Regions from separate parts of the Homo sapiens genome. Here region 2 is linked to region 1. The links are contacts of gene promoters, found by promoter capture Hi-C in blood cells and fetal thymus (Javierre and others, 2016). All regions are on one chromosome and are shown on one strand. The core of a region is centred on a gene start or on the middle of the fragment in contact, and the rest is flanking DNA. Distances in the headings are between cores, read along the strand shown. Region 1 holds the start of WBP11 (WW domain binding protein 11). Region 2 has its middle 94 kb from the start of ATF7IP.

Region 1 (4,490 bases), core at 883-3,382:
TTTCCACTCTTGGTGGATGATGTAGATCTCCGTCCCATGTTGACAATTTGTATGGTTTACTTGTTCATTAAAAAAAGAAAAACCTGTGAAGGTGAAGACAAAGAAATAGCTTATATCTCCTAAATGTATTTCTTCCTTTTTCTAGTCCCTACCAATCTCTGAAAAAAAATTCCTTTAATTAGAAATTCTGTGAGACTGTTCTTTCCTTAGTTTTGACTTTAATGTCCAAGAAAGATGGCATCACCTTTCTTGACCATGAAAATTTAGATCTCTATCATTCTTCAGAAATGTGATGAGTGTGAAGACCACTTTGAATATCCTCAAGTCATCAGTTTAGCTTTTTTCTTATGGATCACAGCACTGACTTTGTCAACTGATAAAAACAACTAGAAAATGCTTTAACGATATGGCACAAACCATGAACATCAGAATTCATTAGTCCTTCTTCTATAACCTCCCTTTATTAACATGTAATTGTAAAAGAAGAATAAGAAGGGAATGGGGGTAATGGATCTAGGCTCAAAACACATACCTCACCTTTGCCTCTCTCCATGGTTTTTCTTGGCATGTATGCTGTACATTCTCAATACTTCTAAGACACTAAAAACTCATTAATTTAAGCATATTTAATTCAGATTCAGTTCTAGTTCAGATATAATGCTTGACTCTCAAGAGTTCAAAACACAACTAAAAATGCAAATATTTGAAATTAGTGCTATACTGAGAGCTCCCCAAAACTTAAATATTAAGACACATATTTTTCTTACTAAGACCTGACTCCCAATATATATTTCTTAAGGTAATTAAAGGGAATACTTATTTTTGTTTGAGGAAAAAATATTTTGTAAGCTAAAACTTTTATTAACACAGTACCCTATTACATGACTTCTTCCTCTTATTCCAAAATAATGGGGCTTAATTTTTTGAAGCGCAGTCTTTCCAGTAATAAAGGCGGACAAATTTGCTTCCTTTTGCAAGTAGACACTTTTTAAAGGTAAGAAAGGGAAGATTTTGTCAGCCCAGTTTATTACAGTTAATGTCTCTTTCACCAAGTGTCCAACTGCCCCGAAAGCCAGATGTTTCAGAAAGCCAGATGTTTCACAGCTGTTCTGGTGGCAATTACTTCAAGACAGCGGTATCAAAGGCTCTGATTTTTAGCTTCCTCATCTAAAAAATGGGGACATCAATTACTTTATAACAAAGCTCTGATGATACAATGAGATTACAAATAAAATATCCTGTGATGTTTGACTCACTACTTAACTAAAATCTTTATAATGGATCCATATTCCTGGCCTAGCTACCATACACCCTGTCAAGTGGTTTCCTTCTAAGAAAAACTGGGGATGGGGGGGTTAGGGGGGTGGGAGAGCAGCAGGGAGTAGGAGGTAGGGAAGGAGGAAAACAAGCAAAATCAGTACATATACAAGCTCTCCCATCTTTGATTGCCTGCGTTTTTTGTGCTTTCCTTTCTCAAGTTTCCTCAGGCTCATGTTCTGAATCTCCTCCCCCACAAATGAAACACAACGGATACGAATTACAGAGAATTTTACGGAAGACACTGGAGCTTAAGTCTGCAGATTAGTTTTTTGTCTACAAGCGGAGGCGACTGGAAAATCAAGCCAAATAAGCGTTGGATAACTCTAAACAGCCAAAGAAGCTTCAATGGGATAGGGTCCAGGTTCACCAAAGGAGGCAACACCAGCAACTGACGAAACCATAGCGACGGCTGACCGACCATGACTCGAGGTACAAGACGTCAAACCTAAGGCTACTAATCAACGTGCGTAAGAAGCGGCCCCAACCGACCCGGGCGATGCCAACCGCGCAACCACTGGTCGCCGCGCCACCCCAGGCCCAGGAATAGCCCAGTCCGCAACAGGGAGACCTCAACCAGGGAGAGGAGGAGCGGGGCAAAGGGGCTGGGTGTCCCCCAAGCCGCTGCGCGGGACGTGGAAGGGACGAAAGAGGTGAGGAAGAGTAGTAAATCAATTCAATACACTCACACTTCTGCTGTGCTCCCAGGACTACGAGAAGCGGGTAGGGGGCGACTCCCGGCCTCTTTCACTTCGTAAAGGCCTTCAACTGGGTCTCTCGGTCAACCCCTCAGCTACCGCCATCTTGAAACCTCGCGCCCCTCCGCACTCCTCACGTCATTTCCCATTCCTCTGTCCCGCCTTCTCTTAGCGCCGCTTGACCCTGGAACCATAGAGAATACCCAAGAATTCCAGGACCAGAGTCTCTTCCGGTTCCATACAATACTCAATTGGTTGGTTGTCGGCTAAGAGCCCGCCTCATTGCGCTCATCTAGTACAATAGGAATTAGAAGAAGATAGCTGCTAACTGAGTGGCTGACGGTCCTGTCTCTCGAGTTGGAGGCATCTTGACTTAGTTGCTGGGAGCCTGGTACGTTGAGCCGTCCGAGAACGGTACATTCTGCAGATAAAGAAGCGTTCTGCGTTTTCTGTCTTTTGGAATTACCTTAGTTTTTGCATTTTTCTGTTTCTTATGACCCAAGCAGGTGCGATCCTTTAGGGGTGTCTCCGTGTGTAAACGAATACCCAGATAACATTTGCCACTGAGTTTAATCCGCTTTGTAAGCATCAGGTTATCCCATGTGAGCGCCTAGTACGTGTGGAAATTTAATAGACAGGCAGAACAGAACGTTTGTAGACCACCTGAACAAATAAATTAGCACCCGTATTAGAGTCGCAGATTGCTTATATGGGCGGTGATTTATTATTTGTTAGTAGTGTTTTGAAGAAGAAATACGGGGATACATATGCAGTCGGTTTTAAGTTATATGAGTGGCAAGGTTGATATATATTGGCTATATTCCCGACTGGTCTTTTCACCAGCCAAAAGTCCTCTATGATGTCACTCTACGTACGGGATTCTTCACTTAACTCTAGCCTTCGCCCTTTCCCTACCTTCTATCCCCTCTTTCCGTGAGTCAGCCCCCACTTATTTCCCTTAAAGGTAAGTTTAAACATTTAAAAAACTATCTTAGAGGATACGCTTGGTTATTTCTAATCTTAACCTGACTATCCCATGTAGGAAGGCTATTCTTACCACCAGTTATAAATATTTCAAAATATTGATGGAGATACATACTAATTTTTAGCAGAATCTTTAAACTGCCCTTGAAGGTATAAGATCGGTCCTATACCTAAACTTACCTTTGTGTTAGGAAATTCTTGATTTGATTTTAGACTGAATTTGAGTGTCAGAAAGCAATGACGAGATATTGTAGGTTAAAGCTGATAAACCAGGTAGTACATAAAAAAGAAAATAATCTTGAACTGCGAAGGTGAGCTAAGTTGTAATGTTTTGCAACTAGTTTTTTTTCTTTCCTAACACATTAGTGATCATAGTTTTGCAACTCGTTTTGAAAAACAATGCAAGAAGAGAAAGAGAAAACAGTGTATGTTGGAAATATTAAAGTCTTTCATGTAGCTAAAATTTTATATGTAGCTACTATTTTTAAGATATGCTGAGCAGTTTTTATTTCAATACATTTCTTGTACTTGGATGGGAGAATCAACTATAACAAACACAGTCTGGCATCAACAGCATATTAATAATTTTGTCAGTATAGACTAAAAGAGTCCTCATGGGAATTATTGGTTGGCAAAGGATTTAGAAAACAAACACATCTGCAGAGATTCAGCGGAACCATTAATAGGCTTCCATAGCCTTTGGCGTTTTCTAAAATCAGGTAATTAGTGAAATGGCCCACCTAATGCGTCATGTAGCAAAGGCAGCTGCCTCCTTTTTGCTAGTGTTGAAAATGAAATTATATTCTTTTTTCTGAAAGCTTATAATAAATTATGACTTTCTTTTAAATGACAAATGCTTTGAGTAGTGACCTTCTATTCTGCATCCTAAATGCAATATGTGTAGCTGTGTTTTGCTTTCTTGTCTTCTAAATGTTTCAGTGTTTGAACATTCACTTGAGCGATATTTAATTATCACAGTTGGTCAGGGTTGATTGCAGTGACTGAAACAGGACCTTGATGTTTTTAGTTTTGATTTTTACCATTTTCAAATCCATCCGGTTTACATTGTGTAATCAGTAGACGTTTACAGATCAGCTTCCTGTCCTAATTGAAGCACATTGTTACAAACCATTTTTCAGTCTCTTCTAGTTTACAGAAAACCAGATTTACTCTGATGGTCAAAAATATGGTAGTATTTCTGTCTCATTCGAAGGCCTAGAGTTTGTGTCTAGGCAGAAGTTACTGAGTATGTCCCCTTATAACTAAATGATGTTTGAAGCTGGTGGTAGAAATGAAAGTCTCTGCATTCAATGTGAAATTTAAGAATTTTACTGAAATTAGAAAAGAGAAAAGTAACCCCTATACTTGCTACTCTACGATAGCATTTACCCCAATGTTGATCTGGTAGAGCAGGGTGTGAAAACATCCAGGGAGAAAATTTTTTTACCTCACAGGGTCTAGCATCAGCTGATCCAGGCATTGTTGACTCAA
Region 2 (4,874 bases), core at 72-2,571, 530 kb before region 1:
TTACAATTGGAACTCTAAAATAGTATGTCATCCACTTTAGGACAAAGTGGATGGAGAGAATAAGGCATAATATCAAATACAAGTCCCCCAAATAGAAAGTTACAAGGGTGGACAGAATGTGGAAAAAAACTAAGACAAACCAAATGAGAACAAGCAAATTCTATTTATTCAGAGATTGCTATAGCTAGGGAGTCAACCACTGTCACTTGTATTTTGGCAGACACTCCAAGGCAGGCAGAGGAGTAGGAAAGTTTTATTGTAGGAAAAAGGAAAGGCTTCAACTATGCCCCAGTTAGAGGCTGTTGGCATGAGGAAGCTGTAAGCAGGCAAACTAGAAACAGGAATTCCTATGTGATTGGTTAGGGGTACACATTTGGCTTTCTCTGATTTTTTTTTTTTTTTTTTTTTTTTTGAGACAGAGTCTCACTCTGTCCTCAGGCTGGAGTACAGTGGCGCAATCTTGGCTCACTGCAACCTCTGCTTCCTGGGTTCAGGCGATTCTCCTGCTTCAGCCTCCTGAGTAGCTGGGACTACAGGCGTGCGCCACCATGCCCAGCTAATTTTTGTATTTTTTTTTAGTAGAGACTGGGTTTCACCATATTGGCCAGGCTGGTCTCAAACTCCTGACCTCAGGTGATCCACCTGCCTCAGCCTCCCAAAGTGCTGGGATTACAGGCATGAGCCACTGCACCCATCCGGTTTCCTCTGATTGGTCCTAATTTGGAAGCAGGGACAAAAATTAGAAAAGCGGTCAGTTATTAATCAAGTCCTGGCCATATTGGCTTGTTGTCACAGGAAACAACTGTTATTGTTTGGCCTCTTAGACTGTCACTAAAGATCTGTGACTCCCAACAAATCTGACTTACAGCAGACTGTCTCACTGGTTGGCTATTGAAAATAAGTGATTAGTTTCCTGGATAGGTTGCTGCATGTTGTCAATGAAGGAAGGAAGAACTTTACCCTCTTATGTTATTAGGTACCTGGGGCCTGCAAATTAAACTGACAAATATTACAACAGGAAAAACATATACAATTTCATTTGGTGTTAATGTTTTTATATGGCATGGAGGGCTTCACAGAGAAGATGTGAAAACCTCAAAACATGTGGATAGAGAGGTTTATATACCATTTTAACAAAAGGCAATAAATTGTGAAGACATAGGTAGATAAAGGACAGGGGTTTGGGCTTCTACAGGTGGTAAGTTTTTGGAAAGTACCTAGGAAGTATATGAGGAAAACTAATGGAAGATAAGGGCTATATTAATAAGGTTTGTTTGTGCAGACAAACAATCAGTGTCAATTCTCCATTTCCATTGATAAGAATGTTTTCTTTCTGGTTATGGGAGAGCACCTTTCTCATGGGAAATGTATGTCAGGCCAGGTGTGGTGGCTCACACCTGTAATCCCAGCAGTTTGGGAGGCCAAGGCAGGCAGATCACGAGGTCAGGAGATCGAGGCCATCCTGGCTAACACAGTGAAACTGTGTCTCTACTAAAAATACAAAAAATTAGCCAGGCATGGTGGCCGGTGCCTGTAGTCCCAGCTACTCAGGAGGCTGAGGCAGGAGAATGGCGTGAACCTGGGAGGCGGAGCTTGCAGAGATGGCACCACTGTACTCCACCCTGGGAGACAGAGTGAGACTCCATCTCGAAAAAAAAAAAAAAGAAAAAGAAAAAAAAAGAAAAGTGAAGGTCAAGAGGCCATTTGCTGTTTTTCAATTGCCTTCAGTTCAAAATAATCAATATGCTAAAGCAGCGTATTTGGGGGCAACATGTTCTGATCCCCTTCATGGGTCAGAGTTCTGTTGTTATCTATGGTTCAGCCACTGCCCATTTGTATTTCAACTTCAAATTGCAGTCTTTCGATTCCAAATTGCAGATGTACACTTGAGATCACACTCCTTCAGACATGAGCCTGCCCCAGAATGAGGCAGTGAGAATTTACTTACTTTATGATGGCTAATGATTCTTTTGAGCAGACAATTATTTTAGCCAATAATTTTAGCCAATTATTTTGGGTGAGATTAAATAGTAATAAGAAGAAAGCAATGTCACCAACCATTTTCCCTAAGATATGGTGGAAAAAATGATGGTTGCTTCATAACCCTGCAAGGAGTATCTGAATTTCCCAAATTGACACCTGACACCACGTATGCATCCCTTTTTTTTTTTAAACAGGGTCTCACTTTGTCACCTAGGCCAGAGTGCGGTGGCATGAACACAGCTCACTGCAGCCTTGACCTCCTAGGCTCAAGCGATCTTCCCACCTCAGCCGCTTAGTAGCTGGTACTACAGGAATGCACCACCACACCTGGCAAGTTTTTGTATTTTTTGCAGAGATGAGGTCTCACTATGTCACCTAGACTGGTCTCGAACTCCTGGGCTCAAGAAATCCACCTGCCTCAACCTCCCAAAGTACTGGGATTATAGGTTTGAGCCACCATGCCTGGCCCCCCATATGCACCCCTAATGGATAGAATTTGAAACTTGAAAAAATGGAGAAATTTAGCCGATTATTTTGGGCAGGAGTGCTTTCCCCATAATTAGGCTGTCTTCTGCCAGATTCTTTTAGGAGCCAACCCTAAGCAAAAGGTTTAAATGTAAGTAGTTTGAGTGGTGATCATAGGAAGCACTGACAGGGGAAAGGGGCAGTAAGACAGGGAAGTGAGGGAAGCCTAGACCATTACGTTACCAATGGGGGCAACCGAGGGTCAGTCATGCTGGGAACCTGTGGGAGCTGTCCCACCTGAGGGGAAGAGGAAGCTGGAGTTTGTCCTCTAATTACTATCAGTCATTAGTTTATAGTTGCTTCCAGGAGTGTTAACTCTACAGCGCTGAGGACTTTCTCTACACCTGAACTGAGGAAAAGCCCTCGGGCAGCATCATGTACTAGCAGTAGGATACCGTCTGCACATATAGAAACAGTAAGTATTGCAGGGATATGAGCATGGTACTGACAGGATCTTCCACACTGGCCAAAAAAATGAGGACTCTGATTCCCTATAAAGTACTGAGATCTAAGAGAATCCAAAAATGTATGATAGCAACTGTCCATATCGCTGACATTCTTTCTTCCTTCCCTGTGGGTAGATGTTTAGTAAATCCCGAAAATGTTCCCTAGGTCTGACTTCATTTTCTTTTCTTTTCTTTTTTTCTTTCTTTTTTTTTTTTTTTTTTGAGACAGAGTCTCCCTTTGTTGCCCAGTGCTACTGGCGAATCTCGGCTCAGGGCAACCTCTGCCTCCCAGGTTCTAAGCGATACTCTTGCCTCAGCCTCCAGAGTAGCTGGGATTACAGGCATGCACCATCACTCCTGGCTAATTTTGTATTTTTAGTAGAGACGGGGTTTCACCATGTTGGCCAGGCTGGTCTCAAACTCCTGACCTCAGGTGATCCACCCACCTCAGCCTCCCAAAGTGCTGGGATTACAGGCGTGAGCCACCGCACCCGGCCCTGACTTCATTTTCATTTACACCCCAATATTAAGCTCTGACCTGTTCTTTTGTTCCTTCAGAATTAATTGTTGGCATCTGAGCCTACAGTCTCTGCTTTAGCAGGCATATGCCAAGGATGTGGTATTAATCTTTCCTCAGCTTTTAAATATTAAATAAGCCTCCCAAATGGACCCTAGTTCTTGCCTGAAGTGGAGCTCTACTTGGCCAAGGGTTTTGCTTTTAGAGAGCTGAAGTGGAAATAAACAAACAGACGGTCAGTAACACTGACGCTTTCCAAAGCTATTAAGTAAACCCTGTTGACACTAGCAATCTTTATTGTTTGTTGTTCGTACATTATGGTTGTCTGATTAGGTAGCATGATTGACTTTAAACACAAAAACACTAAAGCAAGAAGGAATATGAATTAGCGTAGAACTTCTGGACAGGAAGTACATATGTATTAAGGTGTTGTGGTTAAGCTCTCGGGCTCTGGCAGGAGGCAGATTGGGTTACAAACTTGGCATCCCCACTTACTTGCTGTATGACAGTGAGAATATTATTTAACTTCTCTAAACCCATTTCCACGTCTGTAAAATAGAGATAACAACAGTGCTACCTTCCCATGGCTCTTAGGAAGATTTAGCAGGATAATGTATGTGACTCTGTTAGAATAAAGGTGATCTACATGTCATAAAATCCAATATATCAGTCAGGGTTCAGTGAAGGAACAGAGCTACTGTGAGTGTTATTAGGCAAGGGATTTATTATAGGAACTAGTACTTACACAACTGTGGGAGGAGTTGAGAAAGTAAAGATCCGGAAGGGGAAGCTGGAGAAATAGTCACTAAGCAGTCCCCTAAAGCCCTGGGGTGAGCAGACAAGTCGAAGCTTGCAAGGAAATCTGAGAAATCCAGGACATTCATCAGCCAAATTGGTACTGCAAAAAGGGAGCTCACTAAGCATTGTGTGGGAAACCATGCCCCTCTTAAGACACCTCTGTGTATGCTAAGTGTCTGGTGGTGGGCCTGCAACTGCTGTTGACCAGCAGGGCTAGCATTTGGGAAGAACAGCCTGGTGTAGAACAGAGGAAAGTGGACAAGCTGAACCCACTGGGCACCTTGACATCTGTCTATCACCATGCGGCACAATGAAGATCTTCAGAGAGGCATGGCTACCGTTTCACTTCTGCCTTGCAAATTATGAGCAAGCTCCTCGTGAGATCAACTCTAACCTAGGTCCATATAAGGGATTCCGGAAAAAATTCTGCCCAGATTAGTCATGTTGACGACAGAACAATCCAGCATACCCCAAATAATATTGGCTTTAAAAGTATAGTTTATTTCTGTCTCATGCCATACAAGTCTAGACGAAGTCATTCTACAGTGACAGGAACCTAGCTCTTTAGATCTTTTTGCACTACTATCCACAGCAAGCAGCTTTAC

What was found. The method cuts DNA at HindIII sites, captures the fragments that hold promoters and counts their contacts. A CHiCAGO score of 5 or more calls a contact.
Region 2: a fragment that was not itself captured here is called in contact with the fragment with the promoter of WBP11 in region 1 in 2 of 17 cell types (neutrophils and monocytes); the score reaches 7.0 in neutrophils.

What each region holds. Positions count from the first base shown.
Region 1 is chr12:14,801,346-14,805,835 of GRCh38, forward strand. WBP11 (WW domain binding protein 11) reads right to left here and starts at 2,133. Exons shown (of 12, transcript NM_016312.3): 1 at 2,007-2,133; 2 at 1-83. The coding sequence starts at 38. C12orf60 (chromosome 12 open reading frame 60) reads left to right here and starts at 2,325. Exons shown (of 2, transcript NM_175874.4): 1 at 2,325-2,406. It overlaps SMCO3 (single-pass membrane protein with coiled-coil domains 3), which reads right to left. Exons shown (of 2, transcript NM_001013698.2): 2 at 3,305-4,490. RefSeq lists an enhancer at 2,429-2,668. The HindIII fragment of the contact is 2,157 bases long and covers 1,659-3,815 here.
Region 2 is chr12:14,269,453-14,274,326 of GRCh38, forward strand. No RefSeq gene overlaps it. Among named protein-coding and RNA genes, the nearest start is that of ATF7IP, 94 kb to the right of the region's middle. The HindIII fragment of the contact is 5,994 bases long and covers 1-4,318 here.